Linked DNA regions of Homo sapiens: region 1 is linked to region 2. The links are contacts of gene promoters, found by promoter capture Hi-C in blood cells and fetal thymus (Javierre and others, 2016). All regions are on one chromosome and are shown on one strand. Each heading gives the region's core, a stretch centred on a gene start or on the middle of the fragment in contact. The rest is flanking DNA. Distances are from core to core; before and after follow the strand shown. Region 1 overlaps NUS1 (NUS1 dehydrodolichyl diphosphate synthase subunit). Region 2 holds the start of ASCC3 (activating signal cointegrator 1 complex subunit 3).

What was found. Contacts are between HindIII fragments. The CHiCAGO score rates a contact against its expected background, and 5 or more counts as called.
Region 1: a contact is called between a fragment that was not itself captured here and the fragment with the promoter of ASCC3 in region 2, in 1 of 17 cell types (non-activated CD4 T cells). The highest score is 10.6, in non-activated CD4 T cells.

What each region holds. Positions count from the first base shown.
Region 1 is chr6:117,677,783-117,681,276 of GRCh38, reverse strand. The region is part of intron 1 of NUS1 (NUS1 dehydrodolichyl diphosphate synthase subunit); the gene reads right to left. Among named protein-coding and RNA genes, the nearest start is that of NUS1, 4.1 kb to the right of the region's middle. The HindIII fragment of the contact is 942 bases long and covers 1,322-2,263 here.
Region 2 is chr6:100,879,418-100,882,629 of GRCh38, reverse strand. ASCC3 (activating signal cointegrator 1 complex subunit 3) reads left to right here and starts at 1,301. Exons shown (of 42, transcript NM_006828.4): 1 at 1,301-1,569. It overlaps LOC107984041 (a long non-coding RNA gene), which reads right to left and starts at 1,173. Exons shown (of 8, transcript XR_007059692.1): 1 at 976-1,173. RefSeq lists an enhancer at 1,338-1,457. The HindIII fragment of the contact is 1,558 bases long and covers 821-2,378 here.

The DNA.
Region 1 (3,494 bases), core at 543-3,042, about 17 Mb before region 2:
TGCACATATACATACAAATATGACTACACAAAGCAGAGAACAGAAGTACCTTTAGAGATGTTTGAAGTTCTGAGGAGATTCAGAGATATAGTAAGATAGGGAACGGAGTGAATAGTCAAGAAAGGCAAAAATATACAAGGTGATATTTAGGATTGACTCGGAAAAGATGAACAATAGCCTCTTGGTAGGCATACAGCCATTTGCCAGAAAAAGGAGAAGAGGGAGTTCCAGGAAACTGGAACATTAAATACCTAAATACAGACATAGCAAAAGGTATGCAAAGCATTGAGAAACAGGTTGAAAAGATAGGATACACTGGGCAGACTTTTAAAATGTTACTGTGAGAAACCTGTACCCAAAAACCATTTCAAAAGCAACCTAGCTTCGATTTAAATAAACTAAGGAAATAGCACTAGAAAGAGCAGCACACAAAAAAAATTTGTTGTCTTACTGTTGAATTCTCACACAGAAGGCAATGCCTTATTCTGGATCATTCCAATTTACAGCAAATAATCCTAAGGCTTACCCCAAATTATCCTCAATCATGAAAAGGAACATGAAATATAAATAATCTAATGTAAGGCAAGTAGCAGAGTATCCTTTGATCTGTGTTAGGGTTAAACTTCAGTGTGCAGAAGTATCATACAGGTAGCTTGATAAAAACAGAGACGCCCAGGTCCCAGTTCCCTCATTAAGTTTGATTACTAAGTGTGTTGAATCTGCATTTTTTATAAGCATCCCCAATGACTAATTCACAGATGGTCCACAGACAGGTTTTGAAAAATACCAATCAACAGCAAGGTTCCCAGCAAGGCACAATAAAGCCAGGAAATAAGAACAAGTTCCATCACTTAAGATAACAATACATATCCAGATAACTTGGAGCCAAGTGTACCTGCATGTGAGACACAGGCAAACAACACTGCTAAGGCTAGAACAATAAAATCCATTTACCCCAACCCCTGGTTCTTGTACCATCCCAGTTATGGTCATTTCTTAAATTATAATCATATAGACAGAACAGCCAAATCTCGCTAGAATTCTGAACTCAAAAAATTCCTGATCACTGTCCTGAGAGAACAACCTGAATTTTTGAAAGATGAAAGAATTACTTGCAGACTCTATTATAATCAAGAAATATTGCAGGTAGTGAAAAACAAAAAGATCAGTTTGCTGGCAGTCAAATTAAGGTCAATATAATAGATCTTTTAGTCTAAGGATTAAATGTTGTTATCTAGATCCAACCATAATTAGAACGAATTTAAGTACAAATTTGAGAGCAAAGGGGTGTAGGACAGAATAAAATGTAAGGTGGTAAGCTTGTCTTCAAAGTGGCTGCCCGTCCATCTCCCTTCAAATCCTCACCCAACCTTTCTACACAAGCCATTTTCTCATTGAGAGGTGAAGTCCATTTCTCCACTTTCTTGATGCAGAACAGATGTGAGACTTCTCTGACCAAGAGAACATAGCAAAAATAACACTGCATGATTTCCTAGGTTAGGTCCTAAGACATCTTTCAGCTTCAGCCTTTGGCCAAGTCTCTGGAAACATTTGTTCTGGGGGAAGTTAGTTAACTGGTTACCCTGAAGTCAACCTCCAGACCATGTGAAGCCAGATGACCAACCTGCCCCATCTATTTCAGCCATCAAAAACCAGGCACCAGACATAAGGAGAAACCTTTGGGTCCCAGACTCTATCTGAATGAAAGCTATGAGTGACCCAAAGGAAAAACTGCCCAACTGAACTAAGTCAATATATAAATTGTTGTTTTAAAACACTATGCTTTGGGTAGATTTCTACAAAGCAGTAGGTAACCAGAATAGCTGTCCAAGCCTTCATCCTACCTCATTTCCCAACTGTTCATTACATAAATTCACTGCTCCCAACACTCTACTCAATGCTATTACTGAACCTAGTCTAATGAGAATGCTGCCATTAGGGAAATCCCCATTCACACACACAGAGAACACTGTTCACGCCAATCCCAATTCTATCTTTTTGACTAGGTCCAGCTCAGGTGTTGCTCCCTTCCTTACCAGACAAATATGGAGGTAACCCGGGAAATTTTCCATTTTTCGCTCCTTAAAGTATCTGCCATTCACTTAGCATTTCTATATTAGCTTGTGTTAATTTTTAATGGACATCCTTACTTGAGTGGAAACTCTTTAAGAGACACCATTTCTTGTACTTCTTGTATCCCAGTGGCATTTACGAGTATGTCAATAGGATTTTTCATAGTTAAATATCTATCTAGAAATAAGCTTAAATAGACATTTATTTAGAAACACTGAATATGGCCGGGCGCAGTGGCTCACACCTGTAATCCCAGCACTTTGGGAGGCTGAGGCAGGCAGATCACCTGAGGTCAGGAGTTTGAGACCAGCCTGGCCAATATGGCAAAACCCTGTCTCTACTGAAAATACAAAAATTAGCAGGGCGGGGTGGCGCGCATCACCTGTAGTCCCAGCTACTTGGGGAGGCTGAGACAGGAGAACTTGAATCTGGGAGACGGAGGTTGCAGTGAGCCTAGATTACACCACTGCACTCCAGCCTGGGTGACAGAGCGAGACTCCGTCTCAAAAAAAAAAAAAAAAAAAAACCACTGAAAAAGAAACACTAAATAAAGCTTACATGTCTATACTCCCTCTGAGTGATTCTTACATATCCACATGGCCTATATTTTCAAGTCTATATTCAAAGAGCCTCTCCTTGGCCTCCCTATTTAAAACTGTACCCCTTCCTACACCACTGACTTTCAACATTCCTATCTTCCCTTCTCTGCTTTACTTTTCCTCATTGCACTTACATTACCACATATTTACCCACGTATATTATTTGTCAGACTCCCACTGAAATCTAAGTTCCATGAGTACACTGCTGCATTCCCATGTCTGGAAGAGTATCTGGTACTTAACAGACCCCAACTGTCACCTGTAAATGAATGTATGAACGAATCAAAACCAAGAATGGACTAATTGAAGGTCTCTTATTTCAGGAATATTTCTTATTCTTTTAAAAAAAACAAACAAAAAAACTGATTTTACAGTTAAGATACAAAATCCTGTAAGCCCTTTCACTGAAAATGCTCCTTAAGGTGCCTTTCAGTTCTCAGCCAAAACTTGGCTTAGCTTACTTCTTCCTTTTAATTACTAATCATTTTTCTTTTAGCAACTATGACACAGGATACTTCTGAATCACATCAGCAATTTAAACACAGGACTTGCAGAAACAAGGAAATGTGGCAACATTATAGTCTGTACTAGTAGGCACGGTCATCAAGTCAAACAATTTAGCTATACATTTTCCTTCCCTACTGGAAGATAAAGATACTTGCTTTAAAAGAATCACCTGGCTGTACATCAATCCACCACGTTGCTTAATGCCTTTATGTCCACTTTTGCTTCACCTATTTTTTTCCCCAAGCAAAACTGGTTGCATTGGTTTAGGCATGGATTGTGTCATCTCCTAACAGTCTCATGATTTCTATTGGTCTG
Region 2 (3,212 bases), core at 52-2,551:
TCTCATGAACTAACTTGTAAACTCTATGAAGTCCAGGACCAAAGACACATGTAATCTCAAGACTGGAAATATCTTTAACAAAACCATCAACTAATTATTCTGTTGATGTGTGGCTCCCCTGTACCAAGTCCCTATTAAGTGAGCTTCAGAATCTCCTTGAAGCAAAATTCTGTGGTTGAGGTATTCACACATGCTAAGGTAGGCAATTCTTTGGGTCGTGCTACAAGGGCATCTTCTTTTCAGGATCTTAAATCTGTTCCCTGAAGTTTGCATCACATGAAACAAATCAACTTCACATGATAGGTCATTTCATATTTGGAGAGAGTCCAGTAGTTTTCTCTCTTCTAGGTGAGTCCTGGAAGGTTTAATCAATCCTTCTTCACTTGCCCTGTTTTTGAGTTCTCGTCATCATTTTGCTCTTCCCTGATATAATGCCAGCTTGATTAAAGTCTTCAAATGCTGAACACAGCACTTCAGAGGTGGTCTGACCAGTAAAGACAATAACTGGATCACTATTGGCTGCCTCTACAAAACAGTTCTACCAGGCATCGGGGCACATTACCTTGAGGAAGCGGGAATGGCAGAAGAGAGCCACAACAAACATATTAACTCATACTATCTTTGCATTGTTGGCTTTTAGTCTAGAACTCTTTGCAGATAAACCACACAATTCTTTAGGTTAGTTTTTCTTCGTATCTTCCTATCTTTTCAATCGAGTTAGGGAATCTTTGGGCTTTCTGTTTTTGGAGGAGGTCTTCTGACCGAAGAGCCGACTTGCAGAGATCACTTTGAGGGAACTAAGCTGAGAATCCAGAAAGCTTATGGAAAACAGGCCTTGACACCAGAGAACCATGTATACTCTCTAGCAGCCAGAGGGCTTTGGCTGAAAACGACGATAGCAACTACCTGTTTCTTCATTCAAATTGCTCTCCTTTCCTTTACCTTTAATAGGAATTATTTCCTCCACATATTTACCTTACAGAGAAGGGCGGGGAGAAGACGCGGCAGACTGAAGTAAATGCAGGGAAAAAACTCACAGGTAGAGAGGTAGAGACGGCAGGCCTGGCCCGTTGCGGGCAGCCAGGGTAAAGTGGAGCGTCCCGCTCCCGCCCTGGGGCGCATCCTCGCCGCCGCCGGGACCTTCCGCCTCTGCTCCTCCGAACCCAGCGGACTAGAGGCTGGAGGCGGGAGGCGGAGCGGCGCGCGCACGCGGGCGGGGCAGAGGGCCCGGAGTCGACGAGTCGACGTGCCGACGTTGGCGCTGCAGCGGGGCGGTGACGTGTAGGCCGGCGCCAGCTCCACTCTGTCCCTCCTCGCCGGGTCTGTGCGTCTTTGCGTCTGTCTGTCTGACTGATGGTCCTCACACGCGGTTCCCTGTGACTGGGCGCGACCCCGGCAAGCGCGGCTTGGAGGGCGGACGGGGCGCGGCGATACAGCTGCCCGCTCGCATCTTTGGCCCTGCGCTCAGCTCCTCACCCGGCGTGGGAAGTTAAAGTAAAACCGAAAGGGAAGAAGGCGCGGTGGCAGGAGCTGACAGAGTGATGGGAAACGCGTGAGCCAGGCCGAGAGGTGAGGAGGTGGAGGTGGAGGTGGGAGGACGAGAAGGGTCGCCGCGGCCAGGGGAGCTGGCTGGAGGCGGGGACGGCGAGGCGGGCTACGCGACCCGCCAGAGATTCTCTTCCTGCCTCCGGGGCAAGTCCCGACCTGTCATCCTTTTCAGTGGCATGAGGTCGAGTCCGGGGTCTCGCAACAATACCGCCCATTCCTAGAGTTTGTAGGTGGGGTTGGGGATAGAAAACTTAACCTAAGCTACATATTGTCCAAGTGTTAAGCCACAACGTGACCAGATGAGGTTTTTCTGTCCCATGCATGGGTAATTTGTTTTCTTTTTTTCTGTTACAAAGCCTTGATAACTTCGTTTTCTTCACGTAGATTTGGGGAAAGAAATCTTCCTCATATTTTTCCCCCAACACACTGGAAAGTAAATAGGTAGCTGACCGTGATGGATTGTGGGTGAATTTCGCAATCAAGGAGCCTATAATGTCATTTTGAAATAAATAAATGTGTATGTGGGTGCTAGGGAGGTTTTGTGAGTACTGGGCAGTCATTTCAAATAGGTTTCTTATAAATTAACTTACTCATGGAATGCAGTGTGCTAATGGTATTTGCTATTCTTTGGTTTAAAAGAAGCATAATTCTAGGGGCTGGTAAAAGTTTGATGTGTTGTCACTTGTGCATTCAAACTCATGGTTACATTTTCTTTCTTTCCCTAGGTTAGGTGAGATTGACAGCCATTTTCTCCATCACCAGATTTTATGTTTCATAGATTGAAATCCTTTTTCTGATTCTCAAAGTTCTCAAATGTTGAGAATTAAGCTTTTGGTTTTACTATGGATTGTGCTCCAGTTTATGTTGTCTCTTTTTTTTAATGATGGTTATAATAGTCTTGCATGAGAAAAATGATCCTTAAAGATGCTCTTAAGCTTAGGCTAAATAATCCTATTTATATGAGAAATTAATTTTTCATGGTTCAGCTTTCTTGATCCCTGCTTAACAGTTTTTTGTCATTCATTCATTCAAGTCTTCCTATGTGTCAAACGCTGGGCTAGGCCTAGGAGAGCAAGAGAGAGACAGTCTCTGTGCTCATGAACTTTCTATAATCCAGCAGCCTCCTTTTAAGACAGAATCTTGACTAGGGTTCTTTCTCATGCCATGGATCTGTAGTTAACCAAAACAAAGCTTTTAAAAGAAAAAGTTATTGTCAATGTATATATGTAATTGGCATTGAAAGGGGAACAGATGATCTTGCTTTAACAGCATGATTTGATATTGCCTTTGATCAAAAAGTAGTATATGTACCAGTGGTTTGCCATTTCAGAAGAGTAAGTTTTTCTTTTTCAAAGCTTGTTTAAATATAAAGTTCACAGTTCTACCTCAGTTTCTACCTCAAAAAAAATAAATAAATAAAAAGCTTTTTCTTTTGAGGTAGAAATCAGTTTCTTTCCAGTCTTCACTTTGGTCTGATTGATCTCCTGTGTATCTCTGGAACCCCTAGGCTCAAGCAGTCCTCCTGCATCGGCCTCCCAAAGTGCTGGGATTACGGGCCCCATTTTGCCTTTTTGTATGCTAATGAATTGACTAAGAATTTTGTCTTAGCTAGCTGGCTGCTCCTAGTAGCTTCAGGATGGGGGCTGGTTACCAGAAAGGTCAAG